Linked DNA regions of Homo sapiens: regions 1 and 3 are each linked to region 2. The links are contacts of gene promoters, found by promoter capture Hi-C in blood cells and fetal thymus (Javierre and others, 2016). All regions are on one chromosome and are shown on one strand. Each heading gives the region's core, a stretch centred on a gene start or on the middle of the fragment in contact. The rest is flanking DNA. Distances are from core to core; before and after follow the strand shown. Region 1 holds the start of TMEM86A (transmembrane protein 86A). Region 2 holds the start of TSG101 (tumor susceptibility 101). Region 3 has its middle 17 kb from the start of TMEM86A.

What was found. The method cuts DNA at HindIII sites, captures the fragments that hold promoters and counts their contacts. A CHiCAGO score of 5 or more calls a contact.
Region 1: a fragment that was not itself captured here is called in contact with the fragment with the promoter of TSG101 in region 2 in 10 of 17 cell types (fetal thymus, activated CD4 T cells, non-activated CD4 T cells and 7 more); the score reaches 13.0 in fetal thymus.
Region 3: a contact is called between a fragment that was not itself captured here and the fragment with the promoter of TSG101 in region 2, in 1 of 17 cell types (activated CD4 T cells). The highest score is 5.5, in activated CD4 T cells.

The regions. Positions count from the first base shown.
Region 1 is chr11:18,697,328-18,700,576 of GRCh38, reverse strand. TMEM86A (transmembrane protein 86A) reads right to left here and starts at 1,798. Exons shown (of 3, transcript NM_153347.3): 1 at 1,670-1,798. The coding sequence starts at 1,690. RefSeq lists a silencer at 1,687-1,996 and an enhancer at 1,590-2,091. The HindIII fragment of the contact is 4,812 bases long and covers 1-3,249 here.
Region 2 is chr11:18,524,856-18,528,471 of GRCh38, reverse strand. TSG101 (tumor susceptibility 101) reads left to right here and starts at 1,530. Exons shown (of 10, transcript NM_006292.4): 1 at 1,530-1,697. The coding sequence starts at 1,656. RefSeq lists an enhancer at 1,261-1,370. The HindIII fragment of the contact is 722 bases long and covers 1,065-1,786 here.
Region 3 is chr11:18,680,268-18,683,867 of GRCh38, reverse strand. No RefSeq gene overlaps it. Among named protein-coding and RNA genes, the nearest start is that of TMEM86A, 17 kb to the left of the region's middle. The HindIII fragment of the contact is 4,681 bases long and covers 1-3,600 here.

The DNA.
Region 1 (3,249 bases), core at 199-2,698, 170 kb before region 2:
AAACCACAGAGACACCCTGACTGGCCAACTCGTGATCCTCAGCATGGGGCCAGGGTGCAGCCTTAGGGCCCTGGCAACACCAGGTGTGTGCCAGGAATGTGGGAAAGCAGGCAATGGCAATCACCTCAGCCACCACAGCCTCTCTCCTCCTCAACCAGTCTGTTCCTCAGCCTCCACTCCACCTGCCCCAGCCTGAAGGTGGCATCAAGGGCAAGGAGGGCTATGCTAGGGATGCTGGCTAGATAAATGGACCCATGAGTTGGGAGCAAGAAAATTGTCCTTCAAACACCAAAGATTTCAAGGATTGGGGGAAGGGAGGGTGTGTGTCAGTCAGCCTCATTTCCCAGAGAACAAGAGCAACTCAAGCCACACCAGAAAGAGGCAGGAAAGGGGGGAGAGGTTCTATTCCCAGCTTCTGATCTGGAGCCAGCAGACAGGCTGGGAGATGGGGAACTGAGAGGGGGAAGTTAGAGCAGCTGACTTGGTCTCAGCCGGATTAGCAGAGGGCAGCTAAAGAAAGGTTGTACCCAAGGCCACTGCAGGCAGAGTCCAAGCTGGGGGAGGGGGCTGCAGCGATGTTCTGAATCTGTGATCCTTGAAACTCCTTTCCTTGGGCTGCTAACAGATCCATTGAGGGTGATATGGAGCAGCTGGAGTTCCCTGTACACCCACACTCTGCCCAAAGCGATTGTGTCTCTGGCTAGGTGAGCTGCCCAGCACAGGACTTGGGAAACACTCAGAGTCCAGACGACCAGGTACCTAAGGACTGATCAGACTGTGATGAGGAGGATTGGGAAGAGGCGGATGGGTGGTTCCAGGGTCCAAGCCTTTCCTTGTTCTGCCAGAGGTAAGAGCAGTGAGAAGAGATGACTTCCACTTCCCATGGAAATTAAGGCTGGTCAGGGTAGGGGCATGGTCAGAGGAGGCGGCTGGAGGGGATGCCCAGGCCCACAATGCCCAGCAACCACCTGCCAGCCCCTGGGAGCATTAACCTCCGCTCCATGGCCTCTCCCAGCCCCATATTTTCTAGAAGGAGATACTGGCAGTAGCTGGAGAGACCCTGACAGTTATAGGGAACCCAGTAGTAGAATAAGGAGGATGGGGAGACGAAACAAAAGGTTCAAGTTGAGAAAGTCTGAAAAGCAGGGGATGTCATAGAGAATGCCCCCTTTTCCCCCAGCGCGTTATCAGCGCTTCTTAGACTCAGGGGCGTCCGCCAACTTGTTTACAAAATGAGGAAGGTTAGGAAACAAACTTGGGACGGCATTCCCAGGAGGTCCCTGTTATCCTCCCAGCATCCCCCGCCCCCACGCCTCCCTGTGGTCCGCCTACGCGGAACTCTGCGGCCGGCAGCGGTCCCCTCCCTCTCCCGGGCCGCGACCCCGCCGACCCGCGCCAAATACATGGAGATCAACAAAGTCACGCTTCCGAGTCACGTGGCCAGTGTTTTCCTCCCTCCGCGGGCGGGCTGGGGGCGCGCGAGGAGGGGCGCCGCGAGTCTGAGGAGCGGGGGGCGGTGACAGCGCCCGCCTCCCGCCGCGGGACTCCGGCCGCCACGGGACCCCCGCCCCGCCTCGGCCCCTTCGGCAGCTCGGCCTGCCGAAGTCCGGTGGCCAGGCCGGTGGGCTCCAGCCGCGCCGGGCACTGGCTCGCTCGCTCGCTCACTCACCACAGTGACCGGGGACACCATGGCGGCGGCGGCGGCGGCTGGCACCCTGCTCCGGGCTGCAGCGGCCAGGACGCGCCCACGGCCAGGTAAGCCGGCGACGATTCTACAAAGCCCGGAGGGACGGACAATACCTCCCGAGCGCCCGGCGCCGGGGTTCTGTCAGCTAGCCCCGTGACGTCACCGCTGCCAGGGCCAATGAGCGGGCGGGAGCCGGGGGGGCGGGGCCCGGCTGGCGGCGCCGGCCAGGCCCCCGGCTGCTGCTCGGAGAAAGGAGGCATCTCCCAGGGGTCAGAAGGCGGATACCCCCCAGGCCCCGCCCCCTTGGGAGGCCGTGCCAAGGCGTCCACGGAACGTGAACGTGACCGTGACCCCGGTGCCTGGGTGAGGACTGAGCTTGGCTGAGAGACAAACACATTGCTGTCCTGGACGCACAGCCACATACATTTTCTCATAACCCGGGAGCAAAAGGCAAAGACAGATTCCCTTAAGCCTTTAAACATGCAGTCCACGCCGATACGATTGCAATTGGACTCACAACCTTCACTGTGTACAAACACACATCCAAATCATCAGCAAACACACAACCTTCGACTTGAAAAGCGGCACGTATATAGGTATGCAGCAGCCATGGACCCATAATCGTAGCATATACATCACACATACAGAATCATAATTACCCTTAAGCACTCAACAAGTACACAGATCCAAAACCAACAACCACAAATTGACATATATGCTCCATGTAAGAAAAGAGACATATACAGGGACTCTACAGCAGCTCGTAGACCCATGACCCTAATATAGAAACAAACACAGATAATTGGCCGTAGGCACACACCTCTTACAACTCAGAGACCACTGCCACACATACAAGAGCACCCCAAGAATGACAGACAGGCAGACCCAAAGAAGCGTGAGCTAACTTTGCCAAAAATACGTCCCAAGTGGATTTAATGTTGATTTTACGTAGACTAAAGGAACACAAGCTCATTCAGAGCGGTGCATGTTCAGAATCATTGGAATTACATGGAGAGGTAGGTGGCCAGATGGACTGAAATCTAGTCCCAGTTTTGCCACTTCCATGCTGTTAGATTGGGTGAATCACTTCCCCTCTCTGGTCTTGATTTCCTCACTTAGAAGATGAGCGGGTGAGTTCTAAGGTTCCACCCAACTCTGACATGTGTAGGTTGGGGAAGAGGAAGGGCTGCTGGTTTTAGGAAATTTAAGTCTAGCAATCCTGGAGATGGAGATTTCAGCTGTATCTCAAAGGATGGGCAAGTAGTCTGTAAGCTACTGTAGAAGGGCAGTAGCTGTGTGTCAGGCTTTGGGAATTGATGGGAAAGGGGTGACCAGCCCTAATTAGCAGCCAAAAAGGAGTTTCAAACATCCTGGCATGGTGACACAGGCCCTTGTGCTGGTCCTGAGCCTTGTGCTGTTTGGGCAGAGACCGACAGGCTGAAGTCTCCTGTAAGCCCCTCCCACAATGGGTCTCTTCCTTTTCCTTCTGGATCCTACCCAGTTTTCCCTAAAGTCCCAACACCCATTCAGAGGGGTGATAGTCCTCTTCTGGTGACAGAATT
Region 2 (3,616 bases), core at 281-2,780:
TTGCAGTGAGCCAAGATCACACTATCGCACTCCAGCCTGGGAAGCAAGAGCAAAACTCTGTCTCAAAAAAAAAAAAAAAAAAAAAAAAAAAAAATATATATATATATATATATATATATATATATATATGTAAAATTTATTTTAATATTTATAAATGTTGCATTTATAAAATATATAAATAATATATATTACCTGGCATTCCTCCAACTCACAAAGGTACAGTTGCTCTAATTAAAGGGACTCCTGGTTAAGCCGTGGCTTTAAGAACAGTTTGAAAACCTTCTTGCTTTTAAAAGACATAAAACAGCAAGTAAAATGGAAGGACAGACAGACCTCTAGTTTGGTTTGACTGGAGCTGTATGCTTAACTAAGGAGCTGAAAAACAGAGGCGGAGGTTGCAGTGAGCCGAGATGGTGCTACTGCACTCCAGCCTGGGCGATGGAGTGAGAGTGACTCAAAAAAAAAAAAAAAAGAAAAAGAAAAAGAAAAACAATACCTATTAATAGCCTTTATTTGTGCGTGTTAGCAACAGTTTATAATGATGCTTCCACATGCTTTCAGTTAGGCCCTCCTTGTGAATGTGACCTTCACTTAGACGCCAACTTTGAAGGGAATCAATACTACGGCCTTGTTCTCATTAGGGCTGTACTAAAATAATTGAAACTGTCACACATCATCAAACTCAAAATTTTACAATACCTTGAATGACACTGTGCTTACAAAACTGACGGTGATGTGTAATGATGACTAATGTAAGTCACCATGAAGAATTTTTATGGGAAGTAAAAATTCAATTAAGATGGAAGTACCTACCCTTGCATTGTGCAAGGCAATGAAGATCTGAAGGAAGCCTGCCTTCAAGGGCTTGGATTTTGACAGCGGACAGGTACACAAATACAGCACCAGGTAAAATACGGCCTGTATTATCATTTATGGGTGGGTACAGAGGAGAAATTCTGACTTACGGAATGATTTCCTGGAGAAGAAATTACTATCTGGCTTCTTGTGAAACAAAGGCTCTACACTTTACCCTTGCCAACGTATAGTATGAAGGTCTTTAAGCTTAAAAAAAATCATTAATTAGAGGACCACTGGGCATCATCTAAGGCAAGTGTATGACTTTAGAGTCGGGAGAAATTTGCGCCTGAGCTAGAAATGCACTAGCCTACCATTATCACAAGAGCAAGTCAGTGACAGAACAGTTCTCTGACCGCCAGTGCAGTGCCCTCCCACTTGATCAATCAGTCATTAAGGCTCACTGGCAAGCCCTTCGTACTTCTTCCCTCTCCGGCACTAGCTTCCTTAAGTCGACTCTGTGAAATACCTGCTAATCTTATCCTGAACCAGAGTTTCGACCCTCGGAACAGTCTTGCCCACATCTTTGGGACCCGATTCGTCCTGCTGATTCCGGCACTCGAGGGGCGGGTTGGTTGGAACCCACCCCACCAGGCCCCTCTCAATCCCACACGGTGTCCACCCTTGCCCGCAGGACGGCGGCCCGGAAGTGACGTAGTGGAAGCGGAAGTGGTGTAGTGGTGCCGACTTCCTGTTGTTTGAGGCCGGGTTGGGGGTGTGCGATTGTGTGGGACGGTCTGGGGCAGCCCAGCAGCGGCTGACCCTCTGCCTGCGGGGAAGGGAGTCGCCAGGCGGCCGTCATGGCGGTGTCGGAGAGCCAGCTCAAGAAAATGGTGTCCAAGGTGAGGCTGCGACGCGCTCGCCTCCCAGGGCGCGCCCACCGCTCCCTTCCGCGCCCTGTCGAGTCCGTCCCGGCCCAGCCAAGCAAGCTTCCCAGACGGGCCGGAAGCCCCGGTGCAGTCCTTAGCGACCTCCTCAGAACCCCGCCCCGAGGCGCCTGTCGCCTGGTGCGGGAATCCCCGTACGGGAGCTGGGAGGGTGGGGGACGGCGACAGTCAACAAAGGCGTGGAGCGGAGGCTACCTGACACCTGCCGCCCACCCGCCCTCCTCTCTTCCACTGAGTTTGGAGCTGTCTGTGGGGCAGTGTAGTTTTTCGTTTGTTTTTATAAACACAAACAAGGGATCATACTTAGTTGTAGATCTGAGGCAATCCTCTACTCCTGTCCCAATCTAGGGATCCTCCAGTCTTAGCCTTTCTTTTGCCGACCCGCAGAGAGTGTGGCCTTTTCAGTTTTGTATTCTCCAGAAAAGAAGCGAAAATACCAGTCCCTTACTGCCCCAGGTGAAATACATACCATTACCATTTCAGGGATTTTCTAAGAGTAACTACTTTTAAGTGTATGCTTCTTATAACGCGTATTTATTTGCTTTGAGCTTAATTTATGATCTTCACGGCTCAAGACTAGTGTTTTTTTTTTCAATTTTTAAAAAAGCAGTTAAGCATTTTGTATTTTAAAGCCATGATTTATTTATATAATTACTTCAAACGTGGCACCTCACACCAGAGTGGAATGGCTTTTGTTATGTTTTGTTGTAATTTTCCAAAACTATGTAAAATGATTGAGAGTTGAGTCTTGACCAGTTCAACGTGTTAGCTTGGGATAGTTTTGTCAAAGCAAGAATGGTAGCAATCAGCGGTTTAAGCGGTTTCAATTTTTAATAAAACACACTATTATGTGTAAAACTTTTTTAAAAACAGACTTTTTCCAGTTAAATCGCCCCCATAGTTCTTGATTGAAGACCAAATAATCTCTAAGGAGAAAATGACAGCTTTCAAAATAAAGCATATATTGGTTGTGTAATCGTATATTTTAGGCTTCTTGGTTTTGTTTTGATAAACTTGTTATCCTTAGTTATAGAAGACATATGGGAAGCCATAGAAGATTGTGACCCAGGTAAAGATCCATGTTGTAACTTTTATATATCACTTTTTGAAAAAAACGGTATATTGTTTTACATAGTATGTAACTGAAGAGTATCTGTTCCATGACTCTTTTTTTTTTTTTTTTTTTTTTAGAGTCTTGCTCTGTCACCCAGGCTGGAGTGCAGTGGCACGATCTTGGCTCACTGCAATCTCCGCCTCCCAGGTTCAAGCGATTCTCCTGCCTTAGCCTCCCAAGTAGCTGGGGATTACAGGTGCCCACCACTTCACACAGCTGATTGTTGTATTTTTAGTAGAGACGGGATTTCACCATGTTGGCCAGGCTGGTCTTAAACTCCAGACCTCAGTGATCCACCGCTTTGGCTTCCCAAAATGATGGGAATACAGGCGTGAGCCACCACACCTGGCCTCCATGACATTTTTGATCTTTAAATTGATAGCATAGTCATTAAGATTTAGTCCTTGGGCTGGGCGCAGTGGCTTACGCCTGTAATCCTAGCACTTTGGGAGGCCAAGGCGGGTGGATCACCTGAGGTCACGAGTTCAAGACCAGCCTGATCAACATGGTGAAACCCCGTCTCCTAAAATACAAAAATTAGCCGGGCATGATGGCGGGTGCCTGTAATCCCAGCCTACTCGGGAGGCTGAGATGGGAGAATCGCTTGAACCTGGGAGACGGTGGTTGCAGTGAGTCGAGATCAGGCCACTGCACTCCAGCCTGGGTGGCTGAGCAAGACTCCATCTCAAAAAAAAAAAAAAAAAGATTTATTCCTTAATGTATGTATATTCATATAAAGAGCAAGAATATTCAAATATTA
Region 3 (3,600 bases), core at 544-3,043, 160 kb before region 2:
TTGGGAGGCCAAGGTAGGTGGATCATGGGGGCTGAGGCAGGAGAATTGCCTGAACCCAGGAGGCAGAGGTTGCAGTGAGCCAACATCGCGCCATTGCACTCCAGCCTGGGTGACAAGAGTGAAACTCCATCTCAAAAAAAAAAAAAGAAAAGAAAAAGAAAAATACATGTGATAAAACCTAGACATTAGCCACTCTGCTTAGTACCCAATATCAAACTGGCAAGGCTCAAACTTGCCCCAGGTTGGGCCCTGTCATGTTTGATCCACTCAAAGTAGGGTGGAATGACCTCCAACCAGGAGTTTCAACACGTGGTCTCTGGGCAAGATGGAAGAGTGGACAGTTGCCCTGGGTGACAGAAAAGGTGGGAAGAAATGGAAAGGAGAGAGAGAGACAGAAAAGCATTGCCTGCGATGGGGTGGGGAAGGCAAGAACATTGGGGAGAGCAGAGAAAGACTCACCCATTGCAGCAACACATCGTGAAGGGATCTTTACCAGCAGTCCCTTCAGTTGTCAACTGTGCCCCTTTGGGGAGAAAAAAGCTCCTCATGTCCAGTGATCCTGTATGTGCCAAATTCTGACACCCACCATAGTCAGCAAAGAGTACAAGGAAGATTAGTTCAATGAGAATAGCGGTTAACATCCCACAGTGCCAAATTCATTTTTAACCAAGAGGGACTTTACCAAGGGGGACCTCTAACCCCTTAAATATTAGGAAAAACTCTAACCTTCCTAAGTTGGGCCTCAAACCCAATCCCATTTTTTACCCAGGTAAAATGAACCGCACCACTCACCCAAAGTCGGACAATCGGTGCTGCGCAGACAATTTTCCTTTGTGTCAAGGGTCTCTTCAGTATAGTCCCTTCATGGTTTGCCAGGAAGATGTTACCAGAAAGGGGTCCTGATCCAGACCCCAAGAGAGGGTTCTTAGACTTCATGCAAGAAAGAATTTCAGGCGAGTCCATAGAGTAAAGTGAAAGCAAGTTTATTAGGAAAGTTAAAAAAATAAAGGAATGGCTATTCCATAGGCAGAGCAGTAGCATGAGCTGCTCAGCTGAGAATACTTATGGTTATTTATTGATTATATGCTAAACAAGGGGTGGATTATTCATAAGTTTTCTAGGAAAGGGGCAGGCAATTTCTTTTAGACCATATAGGGTAATTTCCTGACATTACCATAGCATTTGTAAATTGTCATGGCACGATGGGCGTGTCTTTTAGCATGCTAATATATTATAAATGGTCTATAATGAGCAGTGAGGACAACCAGAGGCCACTTTCATTACCATCTTTGGTCTTAGTGGGTTTTGGCTGGCTTCTTCTTTTTTCCTCATTTTTCTTTATTTATATATATGTTTTTGAGACGGAGTCTCACTCTGTTGCCCAGGCTAGAGTGCAGTGGTGTGATCTCAATTCACTGCAACCTCCACCTCCTGGGTTCAAGTGATTCCCCCACCTCAGCCTCTCAAGTAGCTGGGATTACAGGTGCCTGCCACCACACCCAGCTAAATTTTGTATTTTTAGTAGAGACAGGGCTTCACCATGTTGGCCAGGCTAGTCTTGAACTCCTGACCTCAAGTGATCCACTCACCTCGGCCTCCCAAAGTACTGGGATTACAGGCATGAGCCATCACACCCAGCCTTGGCTGGCTTCTTTACTGCATCCTCTTTTATAAGCAGTGCTTTTGTGACCTGTATCTTGTGATACCAGACATGCCAACCTCCTATCCCATCCTGTGACTAAGAATGTCTGACCTCCTGGGAATGCAGCCCAGTAGGTCTCAGCTTTATTTTACCCAGCCTCTATTCAAGATGGAGTCACTCTGATTCAAATGCTTCTGACATATTGATGGGGGCATCATCAGGCCTTGAGACACAAGTGGATTTCTCTAACTATAAAGCTGCCAAACCAAGAGTCTTCTAACAGGGTTCAATACCAGGGATGCCCCAGGATAAATCCCTCTCAGTGAGGTGTGTGGGATTAGATGACCACCAACACCCAAGTTTCAGAGTTGCAAACTCTGTGAGGTCCAAGTGTTTTTATGAAGTCCTTGTGTTGTGGTCTCTGAGTATAGCCCTCTCACTGACTCCAGTCCCTTTTACCCCCACCCCATCCAGACCTGAAGCTCTCGAGGGTGCACCGTTGAGCTGCTTTTTCCTCCATGTTGGGAAGTTAGTAGGACGAAGTAGAAATAAGAAAGAAGTGTCTGGGGATTGCGCAGGAGAATGGTCTTTAAGGGAAAGAAAAAAAAACCTAGAAGATCCCACCCACCAAGCCCCAGGACCCTGAATTAATAATTCTGTCCTCAGCATCAATGCCTGAGGACCAGTCTTGGGATAACAGGGCAAAGCAGACCTCCCTATCGCTTTCTCTCAGAGACCCCATCTTCCCAGACACGCATCTCCCCAGACCTTTCGTCTAGTTAGCCTCCCTCAGATATAATAATTAATTCATGTTACTAGGCCAGGCACAGTGGCTCATGCCTGTAATCCCAGCACTTTGGGAGGCCGAGGCGGGCAGATCACCCGAGGTCAGGAGTTGGAGACCAGCCTGATCAACATGGCGAAACCCCATCTCTACTAAAAATACAAATTAGCTGGACATGGTGGTGCATACCTGTAATCCCAGCTACTCAGGAAGTTGAGGCAGGAGAATCGCTTGAACCCAGGAGGCGGAGGTTTCAGTGAGCTGAGATTGCGCCATTGCACTCCAGCCTGGGCAACAAGAGCAAAACTCCGTCTCAAAAATATATATCTATATAATTAATGTAACTGGTATTTATCACCCACTTACAACAGGCCAGGGTGTATCTGGGACATAGACATGAACAAAGACCTTCCCTGTCTTCATGGAGCCCACCAGCTGGCAGGAGAGGCTGACACAATGACCACGGCCTCAGCTTCCCTCCTCCACCCTGCCTCGCTCTCCTACAATCTCGCAAGACCAGAAAAATGGGCAGGGACAGCGAGAGCTTGCCAGGCCTTCAGGGGGATTCCTCCCAACAGACCAGAAGCGGAGCAAAAGGCAATGAGGTTGAGGCACCCTGTGCAGTGGTCAGGAGAGTTATTTGATTTGTGTTACCTCGGCCCTCTCCCAACCCTTTCCTTGGCTTCCTGCCTCCCATTCAGAGAAGACGGGGCTTTGGGAGTGTATAACACTCATGTATTACAATAGGGTTTAAACAGTAAACAAAAAAGCTGGAATTGTGACCATATTCCTTTCCCTATCCCAAGCCCTGATGGCTCCCAACCTCAAGGTGAGGATGCAGAGAGGTTCCCCATCCGTCTAGAAGTGAAAAATCGACCTTTCTGCTTATTACTAGACACACACACACACACACACACACACACACACACACACACAGCCCCTGCAACAAGCACCTAAACTTCCGTTGTACTGGGAAATGTTTTAAGTGACCTCCACCTGCTGCAGCAGAGCCAGCCGAGCAAACGCTCACACTGTGGAAGTGAGACTGCATTGAAAGCAGTCATAGGCCGGGTGCAGTGGCTTGCGCCTGTAATCCCAGCACTTAGGGAGGCTGAGGTGGGTGGATCACCTGAGGTCAGGAGTTTGAGACCAGCCTGGCCAACATGGTGAAACC